Linked DNA regions of Homo sapiens: regions 1, 2, 4 and 5 are each linked to region 3. Evidence: promoter capture Hi-C in human tissues and cell types (Jung and others, 2019). All regions are on one chromosome and are shown on one strand. The core of a region is centred on a gene start or on the middle of the fragment in contact, and the rest is flanking DNA. Distances in the headings are between cores, read along the strand shown.

Evidence for each region. The method cuts DNA at HindIII sites, captures the fragments that hold promoters and counts their contacts. A contact is called where the count stands out against the background at its distance.
Region 1: a contact is called between a fragment that was not itself captured here and the fragment with the promoter of NPAP1 in region 3, in 4 of the 25 tissues and cell types used here (heart left ventricle, lymphoblastoid cells, mesendoderm cells and 1 more).
Region 2: a fragment that was not itself captured here is called in contact with the fragment with the promoter of NPAP1 in region 3 in 2 of the 25 tissues and cell types used here (H1 embryonic stem cells and liver).
Region 4: a fragment that was not itself captured here is called in contact with the fragment with the promoter of NPAP1 in region 3 in 6 of the 25 tissues and cell types used here (dorsolateral prefrontal cortex, heart left ventricle, liver and 3 more).
Region 5: a fragment that was not itself captured here is called in contact with the fragment with the promoter of NPAP1 in region 3 in 6 of the 25 tissues and cell types used here (H1 embryonic stem cells, aorta, hippocampus and 3 more).

The regions. Positions count from the first base shown.
Region 1 is chr15:24,518,290-24,520,989 of GRCh38, reverse strand. It overlaps a transcript of LOC105370733 not described here. Among named protein-coding and RNA genes, the nearest start is that of PWRN1, 39 kb to the left of the region's middle. The HindIII fragment of the contact is 3,349 bases long and covers 1-2,700 here.
Region 2 is chr15:24,850,651-24,853,350 of GRCh38, reverse strand. All of the region lies in intron 2 of SNHG14 (small nucleolar RNA host gene 14), which reads right to left. It also overlaps a transcript of SNRPN not described here. Among named protein-coding and RNA genes, the nearest start is that of SNHG14, 28 kb to the right of the region's middle. The HindIII fragment of the contact is 8,543 bases long and covers 1-2,700 here.
Region 3 is chr15:24,674,396-24,677,095 of GRCh38, reverse strand. It overlaps NPAP1 (nuclear pore associated protein 1), which reads right to left and starts at 1,321. Exons shown (of 1, transcript NM_018958.3): 1 at 1-1,321. The coding sequence starts at 1,228. The HindIII fragment of the contact is 8,790 bases long and covers 1-2,700 here.
Region 4 is chr15:24,490,177-24,492,876 of GRCh38, reverse strand. The region is part of intron 2 of LOC105370733 (a long non-coding RNA gene); the gene reads right to left. Among named protein-coding and RNA genes, the nearest start is that of PWRN3, 50 kb to the right of the region's middle. The HindIII fragment of the contact is 7,283 bases long and covers 1-2,700 here.
Region 5 is chr15:24,805,502-24,808,201 of GRCh38, reverse strand. No RefSeq gene overlaps it. Among named protein-coding and RNA genes, the nearest start is that of SNHG14, 17 kb to the left of the region's middle. The HindIII fragment of the contact is 8,494 bases long and covers 1-2,700 here.

The DNA.
Region 1 (2,700 bases), core at 46-2,545, 160 kb after region 3:
TGGCACATTTCCCACATTGGTTCCCTGACCTGTGGAGTGGGCGCTAGTATGGTGGGAATATCTAAATGGAAGGCACTAGAGCTGCCTCTACCTAGGAAAATAGAAAATCAAATTCATAACCACACCTCTGGAGTGACTGTAGAGATTACCACCACCATCAAGGACTGGAAGGATGCAGGGGTAGAGATTCTAACACATCCCTGTCTAACTTGGCCTGTGCAAAAGACAGATGGATCCTGGAGAGTGACAGTGGATTCCCACAAGCTAAACCAAGTGTTCCTTGTAATTGCAACTGCTATATCAGATGTAGTTTTATTGCTTGAGCAAATTAACACATTCCCTGATACCTGGTATGCACCTATTGATCTAATGAAGCTTTTTCTCTATTTCTCTTCATAAGGCCCACCAGAAGTCGTTTAATTTCAGTGTCAATAACTTCTCTGTCCTACCTCAACATAATATCAACTCTCCATAACAAAGTCACAGTTTGCAGGAAGTTGATCACCTTCTCCTTCCACAGGATACTACACTGGTCCAAGGCATTGATAACATTATGCAGATTTAAACTAGTGGATGTGCAGTAACAAGTACTCTGAACACTTATAAGGTATTTTCATTTCAGATAGTGGGAAATTCTCTAACTAGATCTCTTTTACCAAAAGCAAAAAGCAAACAAACAAACAAAAAAAAGGTATTAATGGCCCTATGCCAGAATAAGGGACTACAAGAAAACATGTAAATTGACTTCCACGAGGATAAAAGCCAGAGAAGGCAAGCAAATATTTCCTGAGTTAGACTCTCCCCATGAAGCCATGAAGAGCACTGTGACACCTGGTCTCCCCTGAGACCCAAAGCCTCTTTGACACCAGCAGTCTCTGTAATTGGCACACTGGCTCCCTAGCAGTAATCCCCCTGGGAAGTCTTCTTAAAAAGCAGAGGATATCCAGGATGGTTTGAAATTTCTCACAATTATTTTTTCAAAAATCCATAGCTATCCAGGTAGTTAAGGAGGCCCATGAGAGCTCACATTATGGTAGATAACCCTGTACAATTGGCTCCTTCAAACGATGACCACTCCCAACCTTGGAGACAGTGCAGCAAGTGACCCACAGTTGCTCTCTCTGCCACACTAACAGTCCCCATAACAGATCACCCTCAAGGCCTCATGTTAAGGAGTACAATTTAGGGGAATTTACCCTGGCAAGGACTGGCAAACACACTTTACGGTCATGCTCCAGACCCCCGGGAACTTTAGATACCTTCTAGGTGTGGTTGTTATCTTCCCACGATGGATAAAGGTGATCAACTCGCTCTGATACCACCTCGGAGGTATCATGCCATCTCTTAAAGGATATTTTTCCTGGGTTTGGGCTGCCTAAAACCATGTAGTGGACAAGTTTTTTTTTTTTCTTTTTTTTTTTTTTGAGATGGAGTCTCACCCTGTTGCCCAGGCTGGAGTGCAATGGCGTGATCTCAGCTCACTGCAGCCTCTGCCTAGCGGGTTCAACAAATTCTCCTGCCTCAGCCTCCAGAGTAGCTGGGATTACAGGTGCCCACCACCACGCCTGGCTGTTTTTTTGTATTTTTTAGTAGAGACGGAGTTTCACCATGTTGGCCAGGCTGGTCTCAAACCCCTGACCTTATGATCCGCCTGCCTTGGCCTCCCAAAGTGCTGGCATGAGCCAGCTTTGGCCTCCCAAAGTACAGACATGAGCCACCATGCCCGGCCAGTGGGAAAGCTTTTATATCTTAAATCACTCAAAAGGTAGCCCAAGACCTAGAAATCCCCTGAAAACTCCACACAGCAAGGAGACCCCAGGCCTCAGGAGAAGCAGAAAAAGCCACTTAAAGCTTAACGAGAACGTTGGCTAAACTGTGCTGGGAAACAGAGGAAAACTGACTCACTCTCTTACCATAGCTCTTCTGGACTCTAATCATCCGGTGGATGTGATCATGCATTCTCTGACAGTAGTCAGCCTCTTTTCCCAGGCACCTATGTCATCAGTCACCGGGCTTATGAATAAAGTGGCCACTGTGGTAGGGACTGAGGTTTTGCATACACACAGCAATCTGGAATTCCTTTCACCATGGCCAACCAGGTTACAGACCCCTCTGAGTGTTCCAACTGTCAGCAGCAGAAACTAACACCAAGTCTCTATATGGCACCATTCCCCAGGAAGATCTGCCAATTTCCTTGTGGTAGGTTGATTACATTGGGCAGCTTTCATCAGGGAAGGGGCAGCATTTTGTTCTTCCTGGAATAGTAAGACAGTTACTCCATCTATAAATTTTACTTCCTTGCATGCAAGTATTCTGTGGAAACTACCATCCATGGACTTAATGCCTATCTACCATCATGGTATTCCACACAGCATTGCTTCTGAACAAGGAACTCACGTCACAGACAAAGAAGGGTAGAAATGAGCTCATGCTCAGAAACTTCAGTGAATTCACCATGTTCCCTATAATCCTGAAGCAACTCACTTGAAACAATGGTGGAATGACCTTTGGGAGTTACAGTTCCAGCACCTGCTAGATGACAATATTGTGTAACTGTGGGGCAAGGTTCTCTAGAAGGCAGTATATGCTCTGAACCAGCATGCATTATATGGCGCCATTTCTCCCGAAGCAGTGTGGTCACAAACACTTCATCAGTCTCTAAGGACTCCCAAATATTTCCTATCTTCTAAACCCTCACAA
Region 2 (2,700 bases), core at 16-2,515, 180 kb before region 3:
AGTTGAAGGAAGTGTCAACAGCTTATGAAGCATAAAGAGGAATGACATCTAAATATGATGTGTCATCCTGGATGGGATTCCAGAATCAAAAAATGGACATTAAGTGAAATTAAGGACATGTGAATAAAGCATGGATAGCAGTGAATGATAATGTTTAACATTGGTTCTTAATTGTAACAAGCGTAACACACTAATGTTAAGATTTATAATAAGGAAAACTGTGTGTGGTATATGTAAACTCTTTATATTACCAATTTGTTCTGTGAGTCTAACACTATTCTAAACAGAACAAGTTTTCTAAAAGCACTGTCAAGCTTAACAGACCATTAGCAATATATTTGGAATTCCCTATTTGTCATTACCTGATTTTTAAAAATTATTTTTCTCTGTTATTTTTTCTTTTCTCTCTTTTTTGTTGAGATATGGTCTCACTCTCTTGCCCAGGTTGGAGCGCTATGGCACAATCACAGCTCAGTGAACCTTGACCTCCCAAGCTCAGGCCACCCTCCCAATCCTCCCACCTCAGCCTCCCGAGTAGCTGAGACTGCAGACATATGCTGCAACACCTAGCTAATTTTTTGCATTTTTTTTAGAAACAGCGTTCTGCCATGTTGCCCAGATTGGTCTTGAATTGCTGAATTGCTGGATTCAATTAATCTGCCCACCTTCACCTCCCAAAGTGTTGGGATTATAGGCATAAGCCACTGCGTCCAGCCCTATGTTAATACTTCTAACTAATATGTTATTCTGTTTTTCTTGTTTTCTAATTTGGAAAAATATGTTTAATTTACACATTGTTTCTAGTCTAATTATGAGAAACCATCAGACAAATACACATTGTGGGACATTCCACAAGATATCTGACTGGTATTTTCACAAGGGTCAAAGTCATGAAATATAAGTGGTGACTGAGAAACTTTTGCAGAATGAAGAAGACCTGATTTGGCAGGTAGACCCTATGATGATGCCCAATGATCGCCTAAGTTTCCATCTTAGGAACCTAGAAAAAGAAGAGCAAATTAAATTTCAAGTAAGCAGAAGAAAAGATATAATATTGTAAAGACAGGATACACGAAATAAAACACAAAACAACTGGATTTTTCAAATGTGTGTTGATAGGTTTATAGTTTGCTGAACACTGGAGTATCCAACATTAACAGGGAAAACACAACACCCCAAGCATACACCTTACTTAAGAACATGTAGTTGTGACATCCATGAAATGAGGAGACACTAATCTTCATAAATGATCAACGAAGAAAAACTAAAGTGTGATAATTTCATTTGTTTACCAAGCTGACAACATTTTAACTATGACTAATCCACCATTAAGTAATTTATGTAAGTAACTTTTTCTATGATATAATGTAAAAGTCATATGTGATAGAATAAAGTTACAATACATGTCATCATCTGAGACGCACAAAATAACCGAGGGGAAAGGAACCTGCATTCAGGGTGGGATGGGGCGAGTCTCAGTGATGGAGAAAGGGACATGAACAGGAGCATCCAAGTTCCCTTAGTTGGCCCGTACTGGATCTGGAGGGTCCTCTCTGTTCCTCTTCACTCTCCCTTCTTCCTAGAACCAATTCCTCATAATGCACAGGGACCTCCTCAGACACAGAGGCTATCCTCACTCTTCTTGACCTGGAGGTACTGTTGCAAGGAACGAGACTGATATTTGAACTACCAGCACAACAAATGCATTCCTTAGTGGGCTGGCCGGCCCTGTGTCACTTCCTGACCTGCCCACTCTCCCCTTCACAGCCTCTCCATGGTCTGCCCTTCCCGCTCCTGCCCTCCTTACATGTTGCTAATCCCAGCAGTCCTTCTAATCCACTGTCCCCTTCTCATGCCCTGGCCTGTGCCACAGACACATTTTTTCCTCTTCTCTTTCTCCTGTTTGCCAGATTCACTGCTCCACGCTCTCCAGAACCTCCTCCAATGTTCCTCCTCCTAGAGGCCTTCCTTGTCCATTCCATTTCAGGTCTGATGCCTGTGCTCTCAGCTCCCAAAAGTTTTGTAACCCAAAACTCCTACATTTGAGATTTGGGTTACAGTCCTTGAATCACTACTGGACTGAAATATCAGAGGTTATTTTGTCCATGTTGTTCACCTATGAGCCCCAAACATGCACTGGGCAAAACCCAAAACAGAATATTTTCCTTTATTTTAAATTTCACAAATTATTTAATGAATCTCTAAAACTTCCCCCCACCAGCCTGGGCAACAAAGTGAGACACGTCTTTACAAAAAAATAAAATAGGCAGGGCTTGGTGGCATATGCCTGTGGTCCCAGCTACATGGGAGGCTGAGGTAGGATAACTGCTAGGGCCCAGGAGGTAGAGGCTGCAGTGAACAGTGTATATGCCACTGCACTCCAGCCTGGGCAACAAAATAAGACCCTGTTTCAAAAAAAGAAAACAAAAAAAAAATAAAAACTCCTCACAGATATGGTTTCCTAATAAACTTAAATTTTCTTTCAAAGTGAAGAATGTGTGAATCTGAAGATGAACATGGTTCTTTTGCTCCCTTTTGCTTTTAGGACAGGAGTGAGCCCTGACTTCCCCCTCAGCCTCTTCTCCAGCCTCCCTATTCTCAATCCACCACAAAGATGAACACATAGACCAGGCTCCTTCTACCTCATCTGTACTTTTTTTCTGGACAGTTTTGCTCCCTTGATGAAGGAAGATGTTCTTG
Region 3 (2,700 bases), core at 72-2,571:
AGTCTGTGGTCTGCACAGGTTGGGAGAAAGAAGGGGCAGGCTGGGTGATGCTGCTGTTTGTCATGGTCTCTGTTTTATCCTCCAAGATTCTGCTATTCCTTTTATACTCAGGGCTCTTCTCCAAGGTGTGTAGGTCTCCCTCAACAGACAGGCAGGGGAGCTTAGCAGGTGGGGGAAGCTCACCTCGATCCCACAGCAATGGCAGTGAAGGGGGCAGCGGCAGCAGCAATGGAATCGACATTTTCCTTTTGCAGGGCCTGTTGCGGGCAGCTCTGGGAGGAGCAGCGCTCCTTGGAGGAATACAGAAAGGCTTCTCATCAGGCATCCTCTTTCCGGACATCAGCGGAATCGGCAAGCCTAGGGAGCTGGGCGGTGGCTCTTCATTCAGCACTTCCGCAGCCAACTTCTGCTGCAGCAGGGAGCAGCCAACGGCTGGCTCAGGGGGCGCTGTTGCATCCGGATCAGGCTTTCCAAGATGCCGGGCACATCCGGCCTGGCTGTGTGTGCTGGGCATGGCAGGGCCTTCCAAGCAGGAGCTCGCTGGAGACGCCTGGGCCTTCTCACTCATGCTGTTTTCTGAGAACTTGTGGTAGACATTTCCCTCCAGAGGCCCAGGGCTGCATCTGAAGGAGGCCACGTCTCCCTGGGTGCCCTGGGACCTGGATGTGGACGATGCTTCTCCGCTGCTAAGGGGGGTCCTTTTCTCGTCATCCTCCCCTTCGATCTGCACCGGATCCTCATCCTTCTTCACTCTTCTGGGCCCTTCTTGGGCCCACACCTCGGTCTCCTCCAGGAGAGTGGCTGGGATGGGCTTCCTGGCCTTGACCGCCGGCTCACGTGGTGAAGGCAGCAGGAGAGTGAACATGCGGCTGGGAGGAGGGATCCTTACGGAACTGGGGTGTCCAAACCTCGGGGGGTTCCGAGCAGGCAGCATGGGTGTCTTCCTGATGGCCAGCCCCCAACCCACAGCCGGCAGGACCCCCAGAGGGGCGGCCGCAGCCCGAGGGAGAGGACACGGCCTCTTAGGGGCGACGAAGATGCTGGCTGCTGAAGGCCTGCGACGGGCGTTCCGGCGGAACAGGCCGCGGAAAGGGCGCGGGGTGGGTACAGAGTGAGCCCGACCGGGCGGGGAGGCGTCCCGGGACAGGGGAGCGGGGGCGCCACGCCCTGGCCCTGGCAGGGGCCGGCGGCGGCACCCGGGTCTAAATTTACTAAGTAAATTGCCCATTTAGAGCTAGCCGTGCCTCCTACCGTAAAACAGGGTCAGCAGTGGACTCAACTCTCCTCAGCCACCGCCTCCTCTGGCGACCAAGCACAAACTGACTGGCTCTACGCCTGCGACGCCGCCGCGAGGTTCCTCACAGAACCAGGGAGCGCCAGCGGGGGCGCAAAAGGCAGGGGTCAGAGGGCAAAGGGCGACGCCCCGTCGGCCCCAGCTGCCCCAGGACCCCCGGAAGCCCCGCTGCCGGTGGCAGGTGTTGCACCGCGTGGCCTCTATGAGGGAACTGCTGGGGCCTGCGGGCCCATCGCCAGAGCTCTTGTCACCTGGGCGCCGGCTCTGCCTGTTCCTTAGCCCTGGCCCGGCGCTGTTGCACGCAGTGGCCCTGTGTCGGCCGTCCCCATTCCCCGGTTCACAGAGGGCACATCTGCTTCAAGTTAAGCACAGGACAACCTATATCCTGCCAGCCTCCTCTAGGACCTTGGCAGTGCTCTGTGCTGCCTGGAGCCAGGTGTGCCGTCTCTGTGGCGCCAGGGTCACCAGCCAGGCCGTGAGGGTTTCCGAGGAGGGGACGTGGTGCCTTGTCCTGACTAGATGCTACGCCCTACCACATCTCTTCCTGGCAGGCAGGGCCTCTTCACTTCTTTTCACAAATTTGTTTTAAACAACATTTAAGGCTGGGCGCGGTGGCTCACGCCTTTAATCCCAGCACTTTGGGAGGCCAAGGCGGGTGGATCACCTGAGGTCAGGAGTTCGAGACCAGCCTGACCACCATGGTGAAACCCCATCTCTACTAAAAATACAAAAATTAACTGAGCGTGGTGGCACGCACTTGTAATCCCAGCTACTAGGGAGGCTGAGGCAGGAGAATCGCTTGAAAGCGGGAGGTGGAGGTTGCAGTGAGCTGAGATCACCTCACTGCACTCCAGCCTGGGGGAACAGAGCAAAACTCTTGTCTCAAACAAAAACAAAAACAAAAAACCACAACAAACAACAGCAACAACATTTAAGCCTTAGGCTGCTTGCTCCTTGGGTCATTGATATGACAGTGGCCTAGCCAGGCTTCGAACCTGGGCTGTGTGATTCCAGAGCTGGTGCCGTGGCCTGTGTGCCTCCTTGTTATGGACACATCATGTATTCTCATTATTTCCTGTAGTCCTTAGGGTACCTAGCACACAGCACATCTGTATTAAGCACATGCGTTCCTAGGGGGAAGCCCTTACTTCACCTCATAAGTTGGTCATGGCAGGCACTGGGCTCCAGTCTCCTCTGAAGACATGGGGCAGCGACCCCCAATAGTCAGCAAAGCAGCATCCCACACTGTTCTTCTAATTGAGCCTTGCAGCCCAGATTTCCTTTTTGGTCTAGTTTGAAGGATCTAAATATGTAAAGATTATAGTCCAGATCCATTTTGGCCTATCCCGAAAGAAATTCACCAGTGGATTAATCCAAATGGATAAGCCAGTTCTCTGGCCTTCTTG
Region 4 (2,700 bases), core at 14-2,513, 180 kb after region 3:
TAATGAAAGTGCAGCTTTCTATTTATAAGAGCAGAACACAATTATCAGAAAAATAAGGATTAAAATATTTTTACCCCCATTTATTTCCCTATAAAACCTTAAGTTTGCTTTATATTTGGAAAATAATTTGTCACTTTCTTCACTACATAAATTCCACTGCCATTCTAGTTTGCATGGAGTATAGGATTGCTATTTTTATGCAGTAAAATTAAGTTAAATGGTGCCAGGCTGCAATATAAAAATGAGGGGTTGTTATTATTGTTATTTTAATCAAGATCTGTCATTGAAATTCTCTGTGTATAGTATTGAAGCTAAGAGACCCTGACTGCAGCCCTAACTGGAAAATCAAATGCCCATCTACTGATTTGGAGCACTTGTTAAATATCAGTGTTCACGCTCTCTTGGTTGCTCACATCTCATAAATCTTGGACAAATGTCCCCTATGTCCCCAGAATAATTTTAGAGCATTATATTGATTATTACCTTTCTTGTACAGTAGGCATATGTTATTGAGTTTCAACGACTCATTCTGTATGAATGCTTCACTCACAAGAGGATGTGTTGTCAACATAGTCGTGTTGGAATTAAGGCACTCCTCACTGCAAGCTCTCAATAAATTCTGGTCTGTTTGTTGGAGTCCTGCTAAATTATATCTGAAAATGGGGCTTTTTGAGACATGCGAGTAATAGGCATCTGTCTTTCAAAAACTGGTTACGTAGTTAGCACCAGATGCTAAAACTGGTGAGTGAAAAATGCGGAATATGATGAAGAAGATGAAAGAGGATGAGTCTCTGGAACTTGGGGGGATCTTCCTGAAGCAAGTGTACCTGTGTTCGAGTTGGTAAATCAATATGGAAAGATGCTTTGCTATTCTCTCTCTACGTGCCCTTTCATCTCCTGAGCTGAAGGTATTCTGTTTGTGCTTTGAGATTATTTTCATATCACATTTAATGCTTTTTTCAAAAACATTTTTTCTTTGAAATAATTTTAAATACACAGAAATATGCAAAGATACTACAGAAAGCTTTAGATATCTTTGAATTACATGCAATGTAATAGATTATGTAACCATGAGCCCTAAAAAACAGTTGGCACAAAACTATTTATTGAAGTATAGGCTTTTTCCATATTTTACTAGGCTTTTAAGTAATGTCATTTTTCTGTCCAGGATACCACATTGCATTGACTGTCAGGTGTATTATTTACTGCTGAATAATAAATTCTCACACACTGAGTGGCTCTTACTCACAGTTTCTCTGTATCATGAATCCAGATGTAGAGGATGGCCAAGGACGAGGTCTCAAGCGAAGGTTCAGTTGGGGAAGGCTCCTCTTCCAAGTTCGTGTGATTGTTGTTAGGAGTCAAGGCCCTGTGCTGGTTGAGATGACTTCACTGGTGAACTATTCTAAACCTGAAAATAATTAATAACAATCTATCACAAACTCTTCATAAAAACTTAAACAACAGTAAAAGTGGAGAAGAGATCACTTCCTGATGTATACTATTAGTTTACACTGATATTAAAACTAAAGCAAGACATCTCAAGAAAGAAAAATTAAGACCAATATCTTTTATAAATAGAGGGTAAATGTCTTCAATAAAATGCTAGCAATACAAATCAGCAAATGTAAAAAGAATTATACACCATCACCAATGGTATTTGTCCCAGGAATGCAAATTTGGTTCAACATACAAAATAATTAGTGTCATGACCTATAAGAATAAAATAAAAAACAAAAGCCATATGATCATCTCAAAAGATGCAGGAAAGGCACCTGACAAATCTAAAATCCATTTTTGATAACAGTATACAACAAATTAAGCCTATAAGGAAAGTTTCTTTATTTTAAAGGGCATCCATGAAAAACTCAGTATCATCATAATTTAATTTAAAGGCTCAATAATAGCATAAACTTGGACATACAGATCAAAGGAATATGGTAGAATTGAATGTCCAAAAATTAATCTTTACCTTTATAGTCAAATGATTTTATAAGTCTGCCAAGCCAATTCAATATGGAAAAATATATTTTAACAAATGTTGCTAGGACAATTGAATATCCACAAGGAAGTTGAACTTCTCACTCACACCATATACATAATTGGCTCAAAGTAATCATATATCCAAATGTAAGAGCTAAATAGACCAAACCCTTAGAAGATAATATAGAAATACATAATTTGGGTCTTAGCTTAAACAATAACTCCTATAATTTCTAAGATATGATACTTAAAGCCCAAGAAAAGGAAATTAAAAAATGAATATATTTAACTTTGTAAGAATTAAAAATTTCTGAGATTCAAAGTACATAATTAAAAGTGAAAAGATAACACAAAGAATAGAAGAAAATCTTCACAATCACATAGCAGAAAAGAATATATTAGCCACAATATATAAAATATTTTACAACTCAAAATAAAAAGGCAAATATCACAATCAAATTGGTGAACTATCTGAATAGACATGTATCCAAAGATACTATAGTCACATCTAGTAAGCACATGATATGAGGCCTAAGTCTTTTGTCATTAGGAAAATGCAACTCTAAACAACCATGAGATACATTTCACAAATCTAAAGGGTATATTGCAAAAAAAAAGTAAATTTAAAAAGGCAAAATACTTTGTGTGGTTTCGGTTATGTGACACTCTGCAATGTGAAAAAGCATAGAGATAATAAAATGTTTGGTATTTACTAGG
Region 5 (2,700 bases), core at 101-2,600, 130 kb before region 3:
ACTGAATTGCAAGAAAACTATAGATATTTATATTATGGTCCATGTGTACAAGGAAATTACATGCATACATTTACAACAAGTTAGAAGGAATCAAAGACTTCAGCCATGTCTATAGCTTTTGGATAAAGAGTAACAGTATGATATTTATGCTTGCTCAGTGACAAAATGGCTATTCTTTGCATTCAGAATTGAAGATTCAGTATTCTGCCTGTATAAACTAATGCCTTGTGCATCTTCCACAATTATAACAAACTAAGCCATATAATGAAAACAATCATACCTCCTTTTTCAGCATTTAATTCTGAACAAATTTTGTCCTGTGGCTGTGAAAAAAGTCTCTGTTCTCCTTTTCAACCAGAGGTACTTCAGTGGAAATTCCTGGAAAACACGGAAAAAGGGTGTGTAGCATCTGCTTTTCCCAATAAAAGTCATATTCCTATTCTATTTAGGAAAATTTTATGACTGAAAAGATGAAAATAATTGAAAAGGTTTTATGAAAAATGGGTATAAGTGCATTATTAAATACAATAATGAAATTAATACACAAGACAAAAATATGAATTTGGTTGCAGAAATTGTTATGTGACCAAAACAAATAAAAATTAATACAAAGTGTTGAAAACTGTGTGCCAAAGCAAAAGCAAGAACAAACATTATCAGACAAGGTCTGAAGGGTAATTATCCTTGGTCAGCAAGCTCAGTCATTGTTGAACAAACTCATTCTTTATTAAAAACAGAATGAATACCCAAACAGATCACTTAGGGAGTGTTGGGAGCAGCTGGTTTTGCCCATGCAGGCCTCACAGAGAGCCCTCAGCTCAGCTTTGCCTGCCACAGCCAGGACTTTGATGGGTCATGGTCCAGAGGAGTAAGACCAAGTCCACTGAGGCTCATCCACATGAGCGGGATGCACCCAGGGATGACTCTCCAAGCTCCTGCCAATGTTTCTAAGGATAGAGAAAGCCCAGAGTGGTGGAAGAGAAGGCACAAAATCACATAAAATTCACTGATTTGTTACTGAAAAATAAAGTGGTAGTGAAGTTGGTTGGGGTTGTCTGAGAGTCACAAAGACGTTAGAGACATTAGTGTCAACAGTCATGTTCTGAAGTCTTAAACTCTATTGAAACAAAACAAAACAAAACAAAGTACACCTGGTATTTTTGGTTGGGGTGCAAGGAATGCAGGATCCTACTCTTTCATTTCTTCATTCTAGAACAGCACAGTGATGAAGAGAATGGACTCTGGAGGGAAAATTCTTGTGTAAAATGAAGTCTCTCAGTAACTGAGTTACTTTAGTATTCGCAGAAAAATACAGAAATAAACAAATGAAAAAAGAAAGCTCAAAAAAGGACAAAAGAATATGTAAGAAAAATAGTGTAAAGAAAGATAAATAGGGAATATTGATTTTTCAATATATGTTCCAAAAAATTAAATATCCGTAGGAGAAAATAAAATAGACATTTGATCTCACATTTCAAAATTAATCAATTCCAGATGGATCACTGACCTAGATATATATATATTTTGTGACAGAGCCTCGCTCTGTCACCCAAGCTGGCATGCAGTGGTACAATCTCAGCTCACTGCAACCTCTGCCTCCCAGGATCAAATGATTCTCCTGCCTCAGCCTCCTGAGTATCTGGAATTACAGGTGCACGCCACCATGCCTAATTTTTTTATTTTTAGTAGAGATGGGTTTCACCATGTTGGTCAGGCTGGTCTCGAACTCCTGACCTTATGATCTGCCTACCTTGGCCTCCCAAAGTGCTGGGATTATAGGCGTGAGCCAACGTGCCTGGCCGGACCTAGATATTTTTTTAAAAAAAATTAGTACGGTATTTAGGACCTAATTTAGGAGAATAGCTTCATGACCATGGGGTATATAAGATTTCTGAAACTAGATCTAGAAGGTTCTTATCACAAAATATATCGTAACATAGCTAATGTGAGCAAGGACTCTGGAGACAGACCCAGTCAAGCTCCAGCATCTCCTATTTTTTACTGAAGTGCTTTAGCTAAGATTCAGAACTGGAGCATGGAAGTGATAATATTGCCTACCTCTTGGGATGTTGTGAGGTTTAAAGGAACTAGTAATACATAGAGCACATAGACTAATGCAGGTCTATACTAACAACTAAATTAGAATTTGCTAATACTGACAGCTTTTCCTAAGTAATTACAAGATGCATCATTGGTAAAATGCACCATTATTTTTTTGCCACAAAAAATAAAACCACTGAAAAACTGTGACACAAATATTTATTATCACTTAGAATTTTTATATTATTATTGATTACAATTTTATTGAACTTAAATAAATGTGGAAAAGGGAATCCCTGTGGGTGGGAATGCAAATTAGTACAGCCATTGTGGAAAAAAAAATGAAGGTTTCAAAAAACTAAAAATAGAACTACCATATTATCCAGCTATTCCACTTCTGGGAATATATACACAGGAAGTGAATTCAACATGTTATTTATCTTATATCACTCCTATGAGTACATGAGATGAAAAATTAAAACAGGATACATTAACAGAGATAATCCTAAAATAGCTCTCATGAGATCAAACTCTTCTGAATCACTTCTCAACTCACCGTTTTCATGACTTTCCTCAAATTATCATCACCTGTGCTTATCATAAGCTTTGGCTTTGCCTCATATCTTTAGAGAGTTCTGTATTATCCTCTGTGAGATTATA